Regions from separate parts of the Homo sapiens genome. Here regions 1 and 3 are each linked to region 2. The links are contacts of gene promoters, found by promoter capture Hi-C in blood cells and fetal thymus (Javierre and others, 2016). All regions are on one chromosome and are shown on one strand. The core of a region is centred on a gene start or on the middle of the fragment in contact, and the rest is flanking DNA. Distances in the headings are between cores, read along the strand shown. Region 1 has its middle 11 kb from the start of IL1RN. Region 2 holds the start of IL36A (interleukin 36 alpha). Region 3 overlaps IL1A (interleukin 1 alpha).

Region 1 (3,053 bases), core at 107-2,606, 130 kb after region 2:
TGAAGGATTTTTCAGATATTTGGAGGTTAAGAAAAAAGATATGACCACGAGGTGGCGGTAGCACACATAGGCTTTCGGGTTGATGCTTTAACAGGTTTACACTGGGGAAGGTCCTTTATAGCAGGAATTGGTCAAGGAGGCTATAGTGTGGAGATGGGGTCCTACTCAGAGGGGAAGGAGGGCAAGAGGACTCCTAGGAAAGAAGAGAATTGGAAAGGGGGCTTACATGGCCAGGTGAAGTCACCCAGCAGCACAGCAGGGAATCTCTGGGTCAGAGAGCTCCTATGGGCTGCAGTGGCTTGAGGCCTTTATGGCTTGGGGCTTATCCTTGGCCAGCAGATATTGGATACAGTTTCATGGAGTATACAGAGCAGGCAGGTTCTAAATGGATTACCATAGGCTTATTGGGGCTATGTTTAAAGCAAGTGGATGTGCAAACATTTGAGTTTGGCTTGGTGGGGTATTCCAGGTCTGGTCTCAGCCTGCGGTGAGGAAATTAATAATCAAGGGGCCAGCACTTTATATAGCACAAGGCAGGGGCCATGGATTAGGAAAGCCAGGCCTGGGGTTCATGCTTAAGTGAGGCTTTTGTTCAACTGGGAGGCGGTGCACAGGTGACTGGGAGGTGGAGGGGCTGAGATGGGAGAGAAAAGCACAGAGAGGGAAGACAAGCAAGCCTCAAGAGGATTGTGGCTTCTTCCGTCACTTCTGGGCCTGATCTACTACAACACTACAGAATCAAGGACAACTGTTTGAAAATTCAAGGCTGAATTCAGGTCTTTCATTGGTGAGTCAGAGTTTTCCTACAGACTCCCTGGGGGGCCCTTGGCCAAGCAACCTCTCCTCCCTAGGCCTCAGTTTTCATAAAAGGAGGGAATTGAACTAGATATGTGTCTTCATCAGGCTGACCTGCAGGAGCTTTTTACCAAAAGTGGCCTACCTCCTCCATCCAGAGGTTCTGATTCACTTGATCTGGGTGTGGGACAAGGACATCATGATGCCAGGGCTGAGGCCCTGTGGACCACATAGCTCCTAAGTCAGGGACCCTGAGGTCAAGTCCTCCCAGCTCTCCCACCTGGCCCTGGTAGTGTCTGTCAATACAATGGAGGGAGATGGTCTTTAACTTCAAAGAAAGGCCACTTACCGCATCAGCAGTACATTTTGACTACATGTTAATTTGGGTTGAAGGTAGAAGATTTTCTATTTTCTCAATCACAGGCTGGCTAAAACACATTTCAAGCTTCATTCTGGGGGGAACATAAATTGGCCTTCAACAGGGGGTGTCAAATTGGGGTAAAATTCTTGCAAATCTTGGGGAAACCAAATAAGTTTTTGTTTTCTCTTCACATAACTATGAAATCCCTAGCCACAACAGCAAATCTCAACATGCTTGATATTCAGCCCAGTTCTCTCCATAAAAGTTTCTGGAGACAATGAAACTCATCTATTGGGTTCTTAGCTTTAAACCTGAGAAAGCTTAAAAACAGGGAAGATTAGCTTTGACGTCTTGCCTCTGGGTCTCCTTCATGTGGAGCTAAAAGAGTAGTTCAGGAAATATCCACCAGGGGTCAGCATTTTGTACACACCTGACTGCTCTGGAAAGTGTTTTTGTTTTTTTTTTTTTAAATAGAAACGGGGTTTCACCATTTTGCCCAGGCTGGTGTCCAACTCCCAGACTCAAGCAATCCGCCCGCCTCAGCCTCCCAAAGTTCTAGCATTACCGTGTGAGCCACCACACCCGGCCTGGAAAGAATCTTGACAAGGCAAATAATCAGTTTGGTTCATGCTCTCAAATTAGTGAAGGTCTGGTTTTTCAAGACTCTCTAGGTGTTTCACTCTAAGGAAAAATTTATTTTCATTCACCTATCAATCAAGCTGAGGTGGGGCCTGACTCCTGACAAGTATCCAAATGTTGCCTATTGCCAATGTCTAGTCTCCAAGGGGTGACACCCGAGAAATTCTAAGTCTTCTGTGCCTGCTTTAAAGTCCACTTCCTGTCATCCTGTTATCTGTTGCAGACCTTTTACCTGTATGATTGACTGGTGTGTGGAATTAACACTTCCCTCCTCGGCCGGGGGAACACACCCACATGTTGGAACTCAGCACAGGAATCCCAACGGCGTGCCTACAAGGGAAATGCGTACTTTTGTGTGTTGGTGGGTAGTGGACAGAACTCGTAAAAGAGATAGATAAAATACCCAGGCACTCACTACAGTGGGGAATGGATCTGTTCAGGGGCCAGCTATGCCTGCATTCTTTCCCAGGGACAGTTGACACAGTCAGATGACTCAGGAAACTTGATTTGCTTGGAGTCAGAGCAGAGGAAAGATCTTAGTGACCAGGGACCTCAAGCTGCCCCACCTGAGCGCTCCACCTCCACTCCAAGGGGCTTCCTGCCAAGAGATCAGTATGTCTGTGTGTAGAGTCAAGACACATCTTCCTTAGGCCACAATGGAGTCACACTGACATCTTCGCCTTCCCTCCTTGGCAGTATTTATTATAAGTCACAGGAGTTTAGTTTTCTTTCAACTCAGGCCTGTGGTTGGAGCACAGGGAGCTAGGCTGGGGCTAGATCTTGCTAACCTAGTAGGCAATGGTAAGGATTCTAGTCTGTCCTAAAGCATAAATAGGCCTTGGACACTCTGAAATTTGTCCTTTCACCACCCCATGCTCTACTTCTAAGTGCTCTCTCTCCCCATCTGCACCCCCTAGTTCCTACAAAAATCTCCTCAAAGCGAGGCTCTTGGACAATTTGTTCCATGAAGACATCGAGCACGGTCCATACCAGCCCTCAATAACCCCCTCTTCTAGACTCCATGAGGACCTGTAGCCCAGACCCCTGATCTGCATGGCGCCTCTGGGGTCTTTCCAGAGGTGTATGTTTTAACCATCCCCTGAGCACCTTAAAGTAAAGATTCAGTGTTTTGCTGTTTGTGCTCCCTAGAGCACCTGGGCGCTTATCGGAAACTGATGAAAACTCACTGCCAACATATTCTGAAGTATATTCATTCATTTATTTAATTTATTTATTTTTTTATTTTTCCATAGGTTAA
Region 2 (3,052 bases), core at 463-2,962:
TGTGTAGAGACAGGGTTTTGCTGTGTTGGCCAGGCTGGTCTTGAACTCCTGACCTCAGGTGATCTGCCTGCCTCGGCCTCCCAAAGTTCTGGGATTACAGACATGAGCCATTGTGCTTCAACTTTAAGTTTTTTAGTCATAATTGTGTAAGCTGAACCAATTAAGATGTCTATGATATTGGCTATCATTTCTGCTGTTAATATTCAGTCCTCTTCAACTAGGGCACAAAAAGATTAGTTTTTTCCTTGCAAAGTGATGTGGATGGTCTGCTGCTGCAGGTGCTATTTTCAATATTGTCTCACTTCTTAAAATGAGTTATCCATTGTAAACTGCTGATTTCTTTGGGTCATTGTCCCCACAAACTTTTTATAAGCCATCAATGATTTCACCATTCTTCCACCCAAGTTTCACCATAAATTTGATTTTTGTTCTTGCTTCAATTTTAGAAGAATTCATGTTGATCTTATAGGGGCTCTTTTCAAACTGATGTCTTACCTTTCTTAGTGCCTCAAACTAGATCCTGTTCAAACACCTTATAACAAGTTAGTAGGAGTTTATTTTGGTGCAAAATAATTCAAAATCCATGCATAGTTTTTTTCATAATATGCATTTTCCATGAACTTTTTGATGACCTCTTGTATGAAAGGGGATTTATTAGGGGAATGAACTCATGCAATTTTGGAGGCTGAGAAATCCCATGACAGACCACCTGCAAGCTGGAGACCCTGGGATGCAGGTAACATGCTCAGTTCAAGTCCTAAAGCCTCAGAACTAGGAAGCCACTGGTGTAATTCTCACTTTGGGATAGAAAGCCTGAGAACCCAGGGAGATGCTGATATTAAGTCCTGGAGTCCAAAGTCTGGAGTTATAATGTCCAAAGGCAGGAGAGAATGCCCCAGCTCCAGGAGAGACAGAAAATCACCTTTTCTCTGTCTTTTCCATGCCATCCATGCCCCCGGCCAGTTGGATGGATCCCACCTACGTTGAGGGTAGATGTTCCCCACTAGTACACTGACTTACACACCAATCTTCTTTGGAAACACCCTCATAGACTTACCCCAAACTAATGTATTACCAGTTCTTTAAGTATTCCTTAAACCAGTCAAATTGACACTTAAAATTTACTATCACGCTACCTATACTAGAGATAGTGATCTAGAGTCCATTGAGGTGGCTAGAGTGCTCAGGAGCTGGCTTTGCTACAGTAATACTCCCTTCTTCCATGGAGAAGCAGCATGCACAGTGGCTCTGAGAAGCTGGAGGAGGGTCACTGGAGTGAGTGGGCTTCTGGTCTGAAATTGACCAAGAATATAGTTCCTGTGGACCAGGAGTGATTAGAAGCTACAGAGGTCTTAAGAGACCTATCCCTCCTCAGTCTACCTTGCACTTACTGAGGGCTCCCACTCTTAGGAATAATTCCATCGTTTCATTTTGTGGCATCAGAGATGAGTCATTGACCCGGAAGAAGTCCCGTAATGTTTCTCAACTCAGTATCTGTGACTATATTTCCTGCTCTTAAAAGTTTAGCATGCCCTCATGTTTCAGGTTGCTTGGAGAAGTCTTAACCATGCTGTTCACATAAAGAGTCACTAAATCCTCTGGCATCAGGAACTAGAAAATATCCTGAGTGTTGGGCAGTGCCAGACTTAGTGAGGCAGAACTTCCTTCCTTGCCCATGTGGATAAAAGGCCTGGGCCCTGTTACAGCCTGTCAGAAAACCCAAGTGCAGTAGAAGCCATTGTTCATAATGGTAGGGATACAGGGTCCTTCGTAACAGATTATCAGTGTGGCCTATGCTGGAAAGTCTGGTGACCTCTGATTTTTTTTGCTTCCAGGTCTTTGGCCTTGGCACTCTTTGTCATATTAGAGTTCCTGGGTCTAGGCCTGGGCAGGATTCATAGGTGCAGCTGCTTCTGCTGGAGGTAGACTGCATCCAACAAAGTAAGGGTGCTGGGTGAGTTCTGGGAGTATAGATTCTGACTGGGGTCACTGCTGGGCTGGCCGCCAGTCTTTCATCTGACCCAGGGTTAAACTGTGGCTTGGGACTGACTCAGGTCCTCTCTTGGGGTCGGTCTGCACATAAAAGGACTCCTATCCTTGGCAGTTCTGAAACAACACCACCACAATGGAAAAAGGTAAAGATCCTCGTGGAAGGGCGAAAAATTGACAAGGGGGTGATATTCTGTGCTCTCATTCTTACTAATTTACATTTTGACTTTCTCAACAGCATTGAAAATTGACACACCTCAGCAGGGGAGCATTCAGGATATCAATCATCGGGTGTGGGTTCTTCAGGACCAGACGCTCATAGCAGTCCCGAGGAAGGACCGTATGTCTCCAGGTGAGTAGCCACGGTCTGTGAAAGGCAGCTCCTTTGGCCAGTGCTGTTGTGTGTTTGGTGCTCAGATGTTATTCCACAGTGGGCTTGTTAACCGGGCATATCTACAGAGAGGAGCATCTCACAGACAATAATGAATAGAGGGTGAGCATAAGGTTGTTCTGGGACTATGGTCATGAAGTCAGAGAAGAGAGAGAAGGCTTAAGGGAGACTGAAGGGTCAGCCTATGAAAAACAGTGGAAGACGTATTCTGAGAAACTTCAAGGAGTAAGAGTAGGACAAAAGAGGGTAATCTATGGGAGGACCAGTTTTTGAATCCATGAAAGACTGACTTTTCTAATGGAAAGTGTTCCCCAAACATAGGATGGGTGTCCCGGTTAGGTGGTGGGTGGTGAGGTGACCATTCTATGAGTGCACTGTGAGTGTCAGTTAGCAGATTCCCTTAAAACTCTGGCTCAGAGGTACCACCCTGGAAATGGCAGCTGAACACCACTTTTCACATCGTGTTCCCAGTCACTATTGCCTTAATCTCATGCCGACATGTGGAGACCCTTGAGAAAGACAGAGGGAACCCCATCTACCTGGGCCTGAATGGACTCAATCTCTGCCTGATGTGTGCTAAAGTCGGGGACCAGCCCACACTGCAGCTGAAGGTGAGTGTGGAAGACAGGTCCTGCCATTTATTTGATGGAAACTCAGATTTCAGGATCTTTT
Region 3 (2,890 bases), core at 303-2,802, 230 kb before region 2:
TCATTCAGAGATATAGATACACGAGCATATTTTATATCCACCACAATAATTATTACCATCTCAACAATTCCATCACCCCTCAAATTTCAAGCGTAGGGGTTTTTAAATGTCAGAGGAGTCTACTCAGTGGGAGGAAGGTTAGGGAAATATCTTTTGGCTTTTTGCTTCTGTCCCTTGGGTTTAAAGGCAGGGATTTGGCTTTACTCTCATTGATTTGGAACTTGATATATAGGACTGTAAGAAAAGAAATAGACTGTAACAAGTTCTGTGCTAAGACTGTTGAGTCTCACCATGGTGACTCTCTTACTGTTTAGGCAATGAGGGAGGTGGGGCAGACCATAAGGATAGCTGGCCTGGGAGAATAACGCTCCAAGGCCATTTCTACAATGATTCCATATTTCACTGTTAATCAGAGACTGAGCAGCTATTATACTTTTTAAGATTTCTTGAATTTGTGTTGCTTGCTCAGTGTTTTGTATTTCCTTATTTCTTAAAATATATTAATATAAAAATAATTCTTTAATATTTCTTAAAACAAAAGGACATTAAGGAATCAAGTCTTACTTAGTCTTGCTCTAGCCAGACTTGGGCTAAGGAAACCCTAGGAAAGTCGTGGCTGCTAGAAAGAACAGGATGAGACAAATGAGAGACCAGTTCTCTGTGGTGCTCTGTATCAGTTAAGCTAGATTTGACTGCAAGTCATAGCAAACCCAGTGAAATGGCTTAATAACAGTAGCATTTCTTGTTTTCTTAAAATCTGGAGGTAGGTTCTCGGTGTAACAATGTTGTCAGAGATGCTGGCTCTTTTTCTCCTTCCACTCTGCATTCTTCATTGTGTGGCTCTGACTTCCCAGTCGTTGCAAGTTGCTGACCACAGTTCTAAGCTTCACTTCCTCATAGAACATATCTCATTCAAGGAAGAAGGAAGATAAAGGACCATCTATATGGCTCTTTATTTTATCAAGGTAGAAAATCTTTTCCAGAAGTTGTTTCCAGATCGACATCTCATTTGATAGGATTAAGTCAACGTGACTTAGTCATGTAAGAATAGAATGAACATAATCTTAAACCAATTGGATTCATCAATTGGGGAAGGGCATGTTGACTTCTCAGTGAAATCAGGGTTCTGTCAGTAAGGAAGAAGAAGAGATGGCAATTGCATGGACAAACAACAGTGTTCACCATATACTTCTCTTCTCCCTTTGACATCACTTTTAGGATTTTATCTACTACATACCTACTGATGTCTTTCATATCTATATACAGTTATTTTTCTGAGTTCCAGATAGGTTATCATCTCCCCATTGTACATCTGCAATTGAGTGTCCTTCTAGTAGCTCAAATTACATGCCTAAAATTTTACTCATCATTCATCCTGGAATGGAGAAGACCTCCATATTTCTACCAAAAATATGGTTAAGACGCTGCCACTCATCCAGTCTCCAGTACCAAGAAACAGGGTCATCTTAGACTACTCCTTACCCAAATCTACCACACCTAATTCCAAGATCCCTTGATTTTAACCTTGATTTTCCAACTAAATATATCTTGCATCCATGCTTTGATCTATTAGTTGTTCTTTTAAAATTCTCTTTTATATATTTTTTAACATTTTTAAAAATTTATCTTTTGAGACTGGGTCTCACTCTGTTGCCCAGGTTGGGGTGCAATGGTGTGATTATGGCTCACTGCAGCCTCCATCTCCCAGGCTCAAGTGATCCTCCCACCTCAAGCCTCCCGAGTAGCTGGGACTACAGGTGTGTACTACCATGTCCAGCTCATTTTTTAATTTTTCATTTTTTTTTGTAGAGATGAGATCTCACTATGTTGCCTAGGCTGGTCTTGAACTCCTGACCTCAAGTGATCTTCCCACCTTGGCCTCCCAAAGTGCTGGGATTACAGGTCTGAGCCACCGTGCCTGGCCTATTAGTTGTTTTTAATGTAGCTCTGTATGTGTGAGTTTGTATAAAGATGGGAACACATGTTTTGTGTATGTGTAATGTGAGCTTTAAGTGAACCCGGAAATATTATCATTCTTAATGCCATTTATGCATACTGGCAGCTAACAAAGAGGAGAAAAAAATATAAAATCTTGGTTTGATTTTATAAAGTAACACTAAATACAATTATTTATGTAAACATTTACCATTTGTCCCTAATTACCATGCAGTAAAATAATGATTAAGGCAATGAATAACTATGTGTCAGAGAATTTTGTTGCAAGCTTTATTTAGTTATGACTGATAACACTCTATCAATCACTATTGTTGATAATAATGTAACATTATGGTCTGATCACAATTTTTAGAACCTAGAAGAAACATTGATTACATTCCAGAAAAGAAAGTTTTGATAACAGTGGTCTCATGGTTGTCAAAGTTGAGTTCATCTAATTTTAGCTTGTAGGACTTGATTGCAGGTGGAATTGAAACAAGAATGCCCAGGTAAGTTTAATGGCAAAAGAGTCAAAGATCGGACCAATTACTGGCTCAAGGTAATTAATGTACATTTATTATATGATTACAGGTCTCCCAAGTACTAGAATGCAGAGTTTCCTGGCTATGGGATAAGCACAACTTGGACCAAAATGCCCTGTATTAATGAAATCAAACTTACTTATCCCAGAAAACACTGTCTGCTATTGTGGAGGATGCCTGGTCACACTCAGAGGATGAAGGGGTTCCCATAAATATAGTATATTATAATTATCTTAAATATATTTATAAATACATATATAAATAATAATTAAAAAATAACATTTCGTGCTTTGCCTTCATCTTGAGGCTCGGCTTCAAGAAGTATTTTACCAAAATGACCTCCCTGATTAGCATAAAAAACTGTTGCGGCAGGAAGGCTTAGGTATTATTCCCTCCATTTTGAAAATGATAAA

What was found. The method cuts DNA at HindIII sites, captures the fragments that hold promoters and counts their contacts. A CHiCAGO score of 5 or more calls a contact.
Region 1: a contact is called between a fragment that was not itself captured here and the fragment with the promoter of IL36A in region 2, in 2 of 17 cell types (non-activated CD4 T cells and naive CD4 T cells). The highest score is 6.3, in non-activated CD4 T cells.
Region 3: a contact is called between a fragment that was not itself captured here and the fragment with the promoter of IL36A in region 2, in 1 of 17 cell types (M1 macrophages). The highest score is 5.5, in M1 macrophages.

Annotation. Positions count from the first base shown.
Region 1 is chr2:113,137,013-113,140,065 of GRCh38, forward strand. No RefSeq gene overlaps it. Among named protein-coding and RNA genes, the nearest start is that of IL1RN, 11 kb to the left of the region's middle. The HindIII fragment of the contact is 236 bases long and covers 1,239-1,474 here.
Region 2 is chr2:113,003,747-113,006,798 of GRCh38, forward strand. IL36A (interleukin 36 alpha) reads left to right here and starts at 1,713. Exons shown (of 4, transcript NM_014440.3): 1 at 1,713-2,135; 2 at 2,228-2,341; 3 at 2,852-2,991. The coding sequence starts at 2,126. The HindIII fragment of the contact is 6,987 bases long and covers 1-3,052 here.
Region 3 is chr2:112,771,713-112,774,602 of GRCh38, forward strand. IL1A (interleukin 1 alpha) reads right to left here. Exons shown (of 7, transcript NM_000575.5): 7 at 2,213-2,890. Among named protein-coding and RNA genes, the nearest start is that of CKAP2L, 8.5 kb to the left of the region's middle. The HindIII fragment of the contact is 1,340 bases long and covers 883-2,222 here.